2 separate regions of the Homo sapiens genome follow, and region 2 is linked to region 1. The links are contacts of gene promoters, found by promoter capture Hi-C in human tissues and cell types (Jung and others, 2019). All regions are on one chromosome and are shown on one strand. Each heading gives the region's core, a stretch centred on a gene start or on the middle of the fragment in contact. The rest is flanking DNA. Distances are from core to core; before and after follow the strand shown. Region 1 holds the start of SCN5A (sodium voltage-gated channel alpha subunit 5). Region 2 holds the start of LOC107986042 (a long non-coding RNA gene).

Region 1 (6,295 bases), core at 2,569-5,068:
AAGCAAAGAGCCAGCTGCCTACACCACAACACAGATACAGCTCAAAAGCAGGGTGTTGAGGGAGAAACATAAGGAAAAGAAGGAAATCTAGAACGATACCCATTTATATAAATGAAAAGCACATACACACCAACAGCCATTAATCATAAAAAATGTGCTCAATTTCATTAGTCATCAGGGAAATGCCAATTAAAACCAGAATATGAAACCTCTGCACACCCACTGAAGGAGATAAAATGAAAATGACAAAAGTATTAAGTGTTAAAGGATGCATGCATTCACTGCTGGTGGAGTGAATACTGGTGGAACCACTGTGGAAAACTGTCTGGCAACATCTGCTAAAAGCGAACACACATTATCCTATGACTCAGCAATTCCACTCCCAAATATGTACCTGGCAGAAATGGGTACATATGTTCATCAAAATTTATGTACTAGAATGTTCATAGGTGTGCTACTCATGAACCCCAAACTAGAAACTACCCAAACACCCATCAGCAGTAGAATGGGTAAAGTCTGGTATATGCATACAATAGGATGCTGTACAGCAACAAGAATGAATGAACTACAACAACAAGCAGCAACATGTGACTCTCATGAGCGTAAAGCTGATCAAAAGAAGCCAGACACAAAAGAGCTCCTATTATACAATTCCAGTTTAAATAAATATCAAAACCAGGCAAAACTAGCAAGGGGAATTCGATGTGACTGTAGTAGTTAACTCTGGGTGGGTGTAGCGGTGGTGACAGAAAGGGGCACAAAGAGGTCTTCTGTGGTACTGATAACGTTTGGTTTCTGTGTTGTGCTGCTCACACGGATGTGTTCAACAACAGAAAACCCTTTCAAGTGAACACTTAGGATTTGTGCAGTTTTCCATTATGTAGGTTCAATGGAAGTAAAACATAAAAAGAAAAGCTTTGGGCTGTTAGAAGAGAAAATGCATATGCACAAACAACAATACTACCTGTTTTACAAGGATGTGCACATAAAGACCTACTTTAGCTCCTAGAGGGGTGCCTGTGTGGAGAAGGAGATGGCAGTGGAGTGATGATGGGGGAAGAAATAAAACAAAAACACAAGAGAGGAGTAATGATATGGTTAACCCAGCTTTGAACCTGAGGCAAAGTAAAGGCAAACCCTGGGCGAAACTGAGGGGCGAATAAAGGACATACTAGTTTTTAAAAACATTTATCTCTGACAGCTGACAACATGTTCCTGTTATTGCTTTAATTAAATAGGGTTGGCCAGACATGGTGGCTCACGCCTGTAATCCCAGCACTTTGGGAGGCCGAGGTGGGTAAATCACGAGGTCAGGAGTTCGAGACCAGCCTGGCCAACATGGTGAAACCCCGTCTCTACTAAAAATACAAAAAATTAGCTGGGCATGGTGACGAGCACCTGCAATCCCAGAGACTCAGGAGGCTGAGGCAGGAGGATTGCTTGAACTGGGGAGGCGGAGGTTGCAGTGAGCCGAGATCACGCCACTGCACTTCAGCCCTGGAGGCAATGCAAGACTCCGTCTCAAACAAAACAAAACAAAACAAAACAAAAAATTTAAATAGGGTCTGGCAAAGAGAAGGGAGTAGCCAAGATCTTGGCAAGGGCTCTTTGTAGGAAGTGCCTGTCTCCAGACACCTGTTGCCTGTCTCTGCACTCTGAGGCCTCTCTAGGACCACAAGGTGTGCTTTTATGGATGAACTTCTACAGGTTCAGAGCTCTGGTTCCCCATCCCCTGGGCTTCTCTCCCCCTGTTTAAATTCAGGGTGCATGTAGACTTACCAGGCTCAGCCCACCTCTCCTGCTGGCAACATCCAGTTGCCCAATACTAAACAGGAGAGTGAAAACCCCACTTCTGCTACATATGGACGGAAGGGAGGCAGGTATCCACCCCTACTCCCAGCAGCTTCTATCCTAGCCTTGTCTCCTGCTTGACCCAATGTCAGTTTGCAAGTAGAAGCTTCATTCTGAGGCCGAGAAGCCCGTGATGGAAGTTCTTAGGGGAGGTAGGACCTTCCTGCTACTGTACTCTCCTGCCTGGTAGGTGTGACTCTGGGAAGGCGGCTGCACGTGGGTTGAAACGTTGACACTGCCTGCACTTCCCCTTCTGGCCGATAGTGGGAGCTGCTAGCCAACCTGAGGCTCGTCAGGCGCTAAAGGCTGGCAGCCGACCTGTGTGGTCCATCCGTCTGTACCCCAGACACCCCACTCAACTCGGGGCCGGAGAGGCCCATGTCCTGAACTTTCCTGTGGACTGACTTTCCTACTGATCCCCTCCTGCAAGCAGAGCAGCCCCTCCGTATGTACCTAAGGCGTCCAACGAAGCCCCACACCCAGGTCGCAAACGGACGCTGTCCCCCACCCCCCTCTTTGCCCTCCCACCTCTTCAAGATCCCCATCATGGAGGAGCAGGTCCCAGCCTCTGGGCTCCCAAACCCAGCACCTCTGTGCCCTCTGAGACCCTGGCACCCATTTGGCTCTCTAAGAGCGGTTCTTGCTTTTGGGAGCCCTGAAAATGTGGCAGAAAAGTGTACCATCCCTTCCAATGACTGTACTTTTTTCGTGGGCAAAAGCTGATGGCCTGTTTTTTGTTGTTGTTTTGTTTTGTTTTTGTTTTTGTTTTTAGAAGCGCAAGATTTATTGTGAAGAGGGAAAGAACAAAGCTTCCACAGCGTGGAAGGGGACCCAAGCGGGTTGCCCTGATGGCCTGTTTTGTTTAAACAAGAAGTGTGTCCCCATAGGTCCTGGGCATGGGCATGGGAGCAACTGTTTGTCAGCGTATGTCTCCGTGTGTGTGTGCCTGTGACCATGTCTCTGAGTGAGAAACAGTGGGTGTGTAAGTATGTGACTCCAGGCTCTGCATGTGTCAAGGTGAAGGTTGTATGTGGCTCAAGAGGGTGGAAGTATATATATAAAGAGGTATATACATGTATATATATGTATGTGTGTGTGTGTGTTTGCGCGCGCGCGTGTGTGGGTGTCTCTGTGTTGGTTGCCTGCTTGCTTCTGGGTCTGGGTGTGTGTTTGGTTCTGTCAGCATGTGCGTCCGTGTGTTCAGGTAGATGTGTACCATTGTGCAGATTTCTGTGGCATCACTAAGTGTGTCTCCAGGAAAGTGTGGTTCGAGTGAGTGTGTGTGTCTCTGTGTCAGTGTGTCAGTGGATGTGTGTCTAAGTCATGTGGGTGTCTAAGTTTGTCAGAGTGTCTTCCTCAGTGTCAGTGTGTGTCAATGATGTGTCTGTCTGTGTCTGTGTGGGTGTGTGGGGGTGTGTATCTGTCTCAGGGTGCATGTGTGTGTCTGTGTCAGTGCAGGTATGCCTATGGCAGCGTGTGTCTGTCTCGGCATGAGTGTCAGTGTATGCCCGTGTCCACGTGGGTGGGTGGGTGTCTGGTAGCCTTCCCAAGTCAGCAAGGTTGCGTGTGTGTGTGTGTATACTCTGGCGGGTGCTGGTGTGTATGCCAGTGTTTGTTAATGTGAGCCTGTCCGCGTCCGCGTGGGTGGCCATCTGTGGTGAAGCGTCGCCGGGTCGCCGTGTGTGTACCCCCGCCTATGTCTGTCTGTCCGCGGCCGCGTGTGCGGCTGTCTGTGGCTGTGAGCCCCCGGGTCAGTGTGGGAGTGTGCGCCCCGGCGGGCGCTGGTGTGTCCCCCCTCCGAGCGGGCGGAGCACCACGTGCGGAGCCCTGGGCGCGTCGCTCTGGGGCGGAGCCAGCCCGGGGCCCCAAGCCCCAGGCCGAACCCAGGCGGGGCCCGCCCCGACCCCGCCCCCGACCCCGCCCCCAGCCCGAGCCCGCGCCGCCTGCCCAGCCCGGGAGCCCGAACAGAGCCGCGGAGCCGAGACGGCGGCGGCGCCCGTAGGATGCAGGGATCGCTCCCCCGGGGCCGCTGAGCCTGCGCCCAGTGCCCCGAGCCCCGCGCCGAGCCGAGTCCGCGCCAAGCAGCAGCCGCCCACCCCGGGGCCCGGCCGGGGGACCAGCAGGTGAGCGAGTGCCCCCGCGCCCGGCAGCCCTGGCCCGGCCGGAGCCCCCTCCGCCTGCCGCCGCCCAACTTTCCTCCCCGAGGGCCGAAGCCTCCAGTCCCTGCGTGCTCCTCCCTGCCCCGGGTCCGCCCAGCCGCTCCCTCCCCGATCAGTGCCCCAGAGAGCCGGAGGGGGAGAAGGGGCGCAGATCCGCCCGGCTGGAGGGTATCCCCGGGGGAGACGTCTCTAAACACCGTGCGCCCCCCTTCCCTTCCCTTTCCTTCCGGGTTTCCCGGTGCGCTGTCGAGGGCCGGGGGAGGGGGAGCTGCGGCCCCAGCTTCCCGGCCATCCCTGGCGCAGGCTCGGGGAGGGTCTGGGATTGGGACCCGGATACCGGAGGCCGGAGACCCCAAGGTCAGAGCGGCGACTAGGCGCGCCATGAATGTGGTTCCAGAGAGCGGGGTTTGCGGGGGCTGACCGAGCAGGGCTGGATATGGGGGAGGAAGCCACGCACCCCCTTTCTCTGGGCCCAGGGGGAACCGTCCGCTGGGGCTGTCCTCTCTGTGGGACGAGATCTCTGCGCGTTTAGACCATGTAGAGATCTCGGTGCCCTTTGACGCCCTAAAGGGGCCGCATCTCCTCTGTCTGATCTCTGTGCTTCTCGAAGGGGTGGAGATCTCTTTGCGGTGAGATTGGAGAGAGTTCTCTGCCCTCCTCTCTCTGAGCCGGAACAGATCCACGCACCCTGATGGGAGGTGGCTCTCGACCTCTGTGTTATTTGATCGTCTTTGGTGGCGCTCTGGAAGAAAGTGGAGGTGCCAAGCTTTGTCCGAGAGGCCAAGAGCTGGTGGGGGCCAGAGGTGTGGGGACTGTTAGTGGTGGTGATGAGGATGGGGGGAAATGATGTTGGGGACAAGTCCCTGGCTGTAGGCCTGCCTTGCAAACACCTGTTGGAGAGCAGAGCACAGCCAGATCAGGATGCCATGGCTAAGATAGTGCAGGACTCACTCTTGTGCTCCTCAGTGCCTTCAGCCCAGCCCCGGGCCATGGGATCTATCTCCTCTTAAGGTCCTGGGCCTATGTTCCATTCCCAGGCATCTGCTCGCCTCCTGCTGAGACCCCAGGTGTGTCTCCCAGTGAGCCTAGGCAGTATCATCCAGATGGCAAACCACGTGACCCCCACCATGCCATGGCATCCCAAGCCCTCTCCCAGGTTCCCACCATCCTTCAGGATCTAGTGGGACCGTGAGCAGCAGAGGCCCCAGCTACTGGGGGCCCAGGCCATTGCCGCTGCCCTCAACTCCATCTGTTTGACCTCATCTCCACTCAGTTAGAATTGGGCAGGTGCATATGAATCGGTGGTAATGAGTGCGAGGTGGAATGAGGGTGGTCAGGCTGCTGTTGCAGGAGCATGGAGAGGGTGAGGTCAGGTGACAGCCAGGGTGTGGAACACAGATTCTATGTTACAGTGTCCAGCTCTGTGCTGAAAAGAGCCTCATTAAACTTTTAATCATGTCATCACTACCATATCATACAAGTGGGGAAACTGAGGCCCAGAGGAGCTCAAGGACTTATTCAATGTCATCTAGAGAATCAGTGGATTGGGGGCACCACGCAATGTGAAGACACCTTGAGATCTACTTTCTGTGGGGCAAATAAGCCTAGAACTGAGCCAGGAGGATCTGAGCAGAAGGGGAACTGGCCCTGGGGTGCCAAGAGCCAGCATTCAGCCCAATGTGGCAAGGGCAGCTGCTGTGCTCCAAGGTGCTCGGCTCCCTCTCTGTGTGTTGATCAAAGCTCCTCTGGAAAAATTCTAGTATTGACTCACTCAGCATGAAGATTGGGCTTGGAGGACTAGTGGGAAGCACCAGAGACAGCTGGGGATGGGAGAAGAGCGGAGGCTGGTGCCCAGGCAATCCAAAGAGAAGGGAGTCCTGAGGGCAGCCAGGGACAGTGGCAAATTGCAGTTTGTGTTCTGTTCAGAGGAGGCTGGCTTATGCTCACTCTTGGGAAGGTTATTGGAAGGGTGTGCAGTGGTAGAAGTGTGTCCCCAGAGCCCATTCACAGGAGAGGTGGTTACCTTTGGCCGGAATAGTCAAGAATCTTATTCTAACAAAAATAACCTTCCACACTGGGTTTTGAAGGGTGAATAGGAGTTTTCCAGGCAAGGACAGTGCAGTCTAGCTGTCAGGACCAGTATGTACAAAAGACAGAAAAGTGAAACAGCACAATTATTAGTTGAGTGATTCGTTGGGCCCCATGGTGTGAGGAAGAGAAGAGCGGAGTTAAAGCCAAGGTCACAGTCACGGGGGCCCTTGTGAGCTCTGCTCAGGAATTGGGAA
Region 2 (6,380 bases), core at 2,839-5,338, 170 kb before region 1:
AAACCCTTTCCTCCCAAATGACTTCATGACCCCTATACAGAGTGTCCCTCTTTCATTCCAGAAACTTTCCTGTCTCAGGGGTTTGGGATGGGAGGTGGTTCAATGAATCTCATGCCTACAGAACCCCAGGCCTTCCAAACAAATATCATATTATACTTTCTTCCAGAACAATGGTTGTTCAAGATCCTGAAGGGTCTCAGGACCCTTTGCAACTGTGCCTCCAATGAGTGCCCCTTTGCGACTATGCCTCTTCCCCCTTAAATCAGACCTCTGACAGCATCCATGGAGACCTTTCTAAATCATGAATCCAGCCCCACTGCTGCCTTCCCTGCATAGAATGACCCCCTCTTTCCCTATGGATACAACCCCAGCTTCACAATTTCCGCAGTTTGGATCTCCTGCCCATCCCCCAGCCATGCTTCCCCCTTCCTCCCTTTCTACTTCACCTCATACTCTGTGACGTCACAGAGGATGTTCTTTCCTCCAGTGTTTGCAGGAGCCCCTTCCTCTGCGTGGAGTGAAGCTCCCTCCTATTCTGAAACTTCCCCAGAATTGATGGATCCCTCCTCTGTTTCTTGCTCTGAGTTCCACTGTTGCCAGGCCATACTGTGTTGTAATTTTCAGCTCTATGGCCTGTCTTTCTCGCCTCTCCCTAAGGATGGTGACTGCACTTCAGCCATCTTGGTGTCTCTAGGCTCTGGCACAGAGGGAATGCTCCAGTCATGAAACAGAAAGCCCCATAGTCCCAAGTTCTCAAATCTACCTTTTGTTGGGGCGGGGAAGGTTTGAGAGGCTAGTGCGCCCAAAACTCAGTCTTTCTTCCAAAGGCTCTGAGCCCAGGAGGAGCTACCAGAACTACGGAGCAGTTTTAATTTGGGTATCTGACCACAGGCAGCATGTGCCCACAGCCGTCCCCATGGGAACCATGTCAGGCGAAGCTCCGACTCCGAGTGAGCAGCCTGCCTCAGCCCTGCACTCCCTCCTGCCTACTGCAGCCCCAGGGCCCAGCAGGACACCCACAGCCCCCACCTCAGGGGCCCACAGGGGCTGCAGCTGCAGGGATCTGGGTGGGCAGGTTGCCATGGAAACCAAGCTGCTCATCTCTCCCTGGTGTCTGGAGTTCTGACAGGAAGGCCAGGCTCCACCAACGCATCCTCATTCCTGGGCTCCTCCTCGACCTCTCAGCCCGTGTCCAGGGCACATCATGAACACAGAGATGGATTAAGAGTCTGAGAGGTACAGGGAAAGCAGAGGAACCAAGAAACTGGCCATGATTCTCTCCCTGCCACCTCATCAGGCCACTGCCACAGTTCCCGGTGCAGGTTACCACCTGAAAGGAGTTGACTTACCCAACGGGTAGTAACCAAAGAAGGCCAGAGTCACATTTGGGAAATTTTGGTATCAGGAGCCTTGGACCAGGAGATCTTATTCTGACCTCATTCTGATATTTCATAGCCTGACGTCAACGGTGAAGCCTCTCAACCTCTCTAAGCCCAGTTTCTCCACGTATAAAGTAAGGACCGTTTTATCCACCAGATTTTCACTGGGTTTTATTACTCAAAGATAAATTGCAAGCTACAAAGACTGTGTGTGTATAAGGGATTGTTATTATCCAGGTTAAAACATAACCTGTATTCAAAAGAATTCGATCAATGCACATGTGACAAAAGCTGATGAATTATTAAAAGGAGCAATTCCTGGATTCCTCTCCTAAGTCTTAGCTCAGAACCTCTCTACCTAGCTAGGCCTGGTGCTAAGGGCTGGAGATCTAGAAACAAGGCACGGGTCCTGCTCTGGAGGAACTCCTGGCCTCATAGAAGTGTTGTTTGTTGACCTACTGTGTGCCTAGCACTGTGAAGCATGCCAGAATAGACATGGTCACACTTTTCTTAAGGAGCCCAAATAAAACTTTTCAGGGAGATGAACACAAGACATACACCTATGAAACAGAGAAGGAAGATTGTAACTTATCTGGGAAGAAGGCTCTAATGCATGTCTCCAGTAGGTACAGGAAGATTCCTGTACTATAGCATGGAAAGAGGAGATTGAGTCAAAGGGGCAAACACTAGTCTACATTATAAAAGTCTCTGGTTGGCTAGAGAAGAAAAAATTTTTGCAAAATATGTTGCCTTCTGAGGAATAATTATTGTCTTTTAATATGCATTTGTTAATTCATCTAATTGCATATTTTGTCTCTCCCTCCCTTCAGAATGTAAGTTCCATGCGTGCAGAACTTCATCATCTTTTCATTTTCATATCTTCAGCCATGAGCATAGATTTTCATTAAGCAGATTTTCATTAAGCACTACCTAAATAATTACATAGTAGGGACAATAGGCATTCAACAAATTGCCTGAAGAAGTGCTTTCTATCCACAGTGACATAAGTACTTCTTCTTTTATTTTTCCCCCAAAACTCCTATTGCAGTTGGTAGCACAGTAAAATCCTGCCATGATGCCCTATGTGGGGCCCAAAAAGTTCATTTGCGGAGAGTATGTGTTGCATTGTCATGAGGTCCATGAAGTGACTAGGCTGTGCCAACCACCAAGGATGAGAGCCAATTACCAACTGCTATCTGTGTGAGTTTGTGTTATTCTAGGAAATGTCACTGCAAGAGGCATTAACGTGGTCATTTTCAGAATTAGTTGTTCAGTCTTTGTTTCCCTACTAGACTGTGAGCTCCTCACACATGGGCTGTGCTCAATAAATAAGTATCGAGTGAATGAATAAATGAGTTCATAGGAGAGTAGAACATGAGTATTCCACCTTGGTTTGGAGGGTCAGGGAATGTTTAGTTTGAGGAGAGAAGGATGACTCAAAATTGGTAAGTGAAGGGAAGGGAATAAATGGGATGTGAGAAAACAAGCAAGAACATTTACAAAGACTCTGAACTGGAAGAGTGTGGTGTGTTCAAGCATCTGAGAGCAGCCCAATATCACTGGGGTATGAAAGAATGGGTAAGGTGGGGCATTGTTAAAGACAGATCATGGAGAACTCATAAACTACTTCTGGGATTGGGGACTTCATTGTAACAGCAGTGGGCAGGCACTTGAAGGTTCTCAGTAGAGGTGTCTTCTGACAAGATGTTCATTTTCATAAAGAACAGTCTGGAGAATGTGCTGCAGAGTGGTGAAATGATAGGGGGAAACCTGCTGGGCGTTCACCAATGTCATCTAGGAGAGAAGATAGTGATGTATCGTGTTGGTGGCCAGGGAGGTAGAATCAGGGAGTTTCTAGGAGTTCAAGTTAAAGGACTTGGTAGGGAATGGAGGTAGGGGTGAGGAATAGGAGGGACTCATGCATAACCTCTAGACTTCTGGCTTGAGTGTCCAGGTAGACGGTGACTGAGGAGGATCTCTGAAGGAGAATCATTTTGGAGTGGGGCATGAGAACAGAAATATCTAGCTCAGTTTTAAACATACTCAACCGGAGATGCTTATGAGATACCCATAAATGGAGATTTGAGACTTTGCTACATTCACGGATATATGAGTCCAGAATGTAGGGGAGAGATTTGTATTGGAGATAAGGGCTTAGATGCCATTTAGGTATAAGGTAATTGAAGCTATAGGAGAGAATGAAATCACCAAAAAGAGGGCCTAGGACAATACCTAAAGCAATGTCAAGATTCAATAGTCAGATGATGGAGAACCAGCTATGGAGGCTGAAGAGGATCCTCTGCCAATAAAAGCCAAGGGAAGGGCTTGCTTCTGCAAGGTGAATGTGGCCAATTATGCTGAACACCAATGATAAGGATCAACTGAGAAGATTCATGAGTCTACAGGGAAAAAATGGAAATCCCTCAGGATTATGGGGGGGGTCCCATCTTGGTCCCCCATGAAAATTTCTTCCTTCCTTGGATATACCCATTCCTCTCCCTCTTCCAGCTTTCTCCCTCTGGATAGGAATTCAAGAGTCAGATTATTTCCCCCTTTAACTGGAGTTTGGAGGGGGTGAGAGGAGTAAGTAGCTGGTGTCACTACGAGGTCCCTTGAAATAATTTTCATCATGATACATTATCACTGCTATAGACACTTCCTGTTGTTTCCTAAAACAGGAAGCTGGGCCCTTCAGAAATGGGCCTCCTTCCACCTCCGACAGGCTCACTAAAGTGGACCAAATACCCCCCAGCCTAGATATCATCAGAATGTTAAACACCCACCTCCTTTGCTCTTTTGTACCTTAAACGAACCACTTCTGGATAGCTTAAAGAGATTCATCATTTAAGATTTGGCCTCCTATCCAGCAGTAGATCATTGGGAAAGAAGGTTTAATTAGGGCTGCCTATGACATTTTACATACACAGCCTTGGAACCTACGACAGAACACTAGGTATCACCATGAATAACTGGCACTAAAGGAATTAGGCCACTTGCATGGGTGCTCAATGAATCCAGAGCTTCCCTACCCTCCCTGTATGCCACCACTCTTCCATCTGCTATCATGCTTACTTTAATATCTTTAAAAATATATAACATTTTAGGCTGGGGACTGTGGCTCACGCCTATAATCCCAATACTTTGGGAGGCCGAGGCAAGTGGATCACCTGAGGTCAGGAATTCGAGACCAGCCTGGCCAACATGGCGAAACCCCATTTCTACTAAAAATAAAAAAATTAGCCGGGCATGGTGGTGCGTGCCTGTAATCCCGGCTACTCGGGAGGCTGAGGCACAAGAATCACTTGAACCCTGAAGGCAGAGGTTGCAGTGAGCCGAGATTGCACCACTGCACTCCAGCCTAGGCGACAGAGTGAGACTCCATCTCTAAATAAATAAATATAAAAAATATATAACATTTTATTTTGAAATAGTTTGAAAGGCTTTTGAAAGACTCTCAAAAGGTTGCAAAAATAGTATTGTTTCCATGTACTGTTTACCCACCTTTCCCCAATTATAATATCTTCTATAATCATAGCACGTTGTATAAACCAGTATACAATGATATGTATACCGCCATAAATTGATATGGCTACATATTTTTTAACTCAGTATTTTTAACTCAGGTATAAGCTTTATTTAGAGTGCACCAGCTTTACATGTACTTTCTTTTTATTAGTCTTATTCTTATTTTGGAGGGTCTAGAGTTCCATGTAATTTTAATACAGTTTTTTTTTTGTAATTAAGATGTAAGTCCCACACCACAAAATTTATCATTTTAAGGTGTACGGTTCAGTGGTTTTTAATATATTCACAAAGTAGTGCAACCATCACCACTATCTAATTCCAGACATTTTTATCACTGTAAAAAGAAACCCCATACCCATTAGCACTCACTTCTTTTCCTCCCCTTCCTTGGCAACCACTAGTCTATTTTCTGTCTATGAAAGGACATTTCATATAAATGGAATCATAAAATATGAGGCCTTTTGTGTTTGACTTCTTTTACTTAACATACTATTTTTTAAATTTTATTTATTTATTTATTTATTTTATTATGCTTTAAGTTCTAGGGTACATGTGCACAATGTGCAGGTTTGCTACATATGTATACATGTGCCATACTTAACATACTATTTTTAAGCTTTGTCCAGGTTGTAGCACTTATTAGTACTTTCTCTTTTTTTTTTTTTTTTTTTTTTTTTAGACAAAGTCTTGCTCTGTCACCCAGGTTGGAGTGCAATGGCCCAACCTTGGCTCACTGCAACCTCCACCTCCCGGGTTCAAGCAATTCTCTTGCCTCAGCCTCCTGAGTAGCTGGGACTACAGGGGCACGGCACCATGCCCGGCTAATTTTTTGTATTTTAGTAGAGAGCAGGTTTCACCATGTTGCCTAGGCTGATCTCGAACTCCTGACCTCAGGCAATCTGCCCGCCTTGGCCTCCCAAATTGCTAGGATTACAGGCATGAGCCACGGCCCCCGGCCAGTAGTTTATTTCTTTTTATGGCTGAACAATATTCTAGCAATGTATTTTTGAATGAGTATCCAGTGCAGAGCTGAGAGAGTTTCTTCCAGTGAGACATCTAAAGTTCCCTGGAATGGCTCTTTTCACTCTGTCAGATGCACCCCCCCGACTCTAACCAGCATCCATAAGTGGTCCAAGAATAAGGAGGGGAGTTGTGGGTGTTGAAATGAAGTTCCAGTAGGTGACTTTCCCCATGTGCCTTCCCTCTCTGTGCCCTAAGCTTCCACTCTGCCTCAGATGGTGAAGGCATTTGGCACAGACCTTGCACACCAAAGAGCAAAAGTATTTCCATCCAAAGGGAACCACCATAAAAACAGCCATATTGCAGTGGCTCACACTTGTAATTCCAACACTTTGGGAGACAGGTGAGACGACTGCTTGAAGCCAGGAGTTCAAGTCCAGCCTGGGCAACAAATCGAGACCTCCATCTCTATCAAAAAAAAAAAAAACTTAAGAAATTAGCTGGGCATGGTGGTCC

The links. Contacts are between HindIII fragments. The study calls those that stand out against the background at their distance.
Region 2: a contact is called between a fragment that was not itself captured here and the fragment with the promoter of SCN5A in region 1, in 1 of the 25 tissues and cell types used here (IMR-90 fibroblasts).

What each region holds. Positions count from the first base shown.
Region 1 is chr3:38,647,210-38,653,504 of GRCh38, reverse strand. SCN5A (sodium voltage-gated channel alpha subunit 5) reads left to right here and starts at 3,818. Exons shown (of 28, transcript NM_000335.5): 1 at 3,818-3,974. RefSeq lists a silencer at 3,700-3,859. The HindIII fragment of the contact is 3,470 bases long and covers 2,310-5,779 here.
Region 2 is chr3:38,818,589-38,824,968 of GRCh38, reverse strand. It overlaps LOC107986042 (a long non-coding RNA gene), which reads right to left and starts at 2,090. Exons shown (of 2, transcript XR_001740555.3): 1 at 447-2,090. The HindIII fragment of the contact is 5,571 bases long and covers 1,303-6,380 here.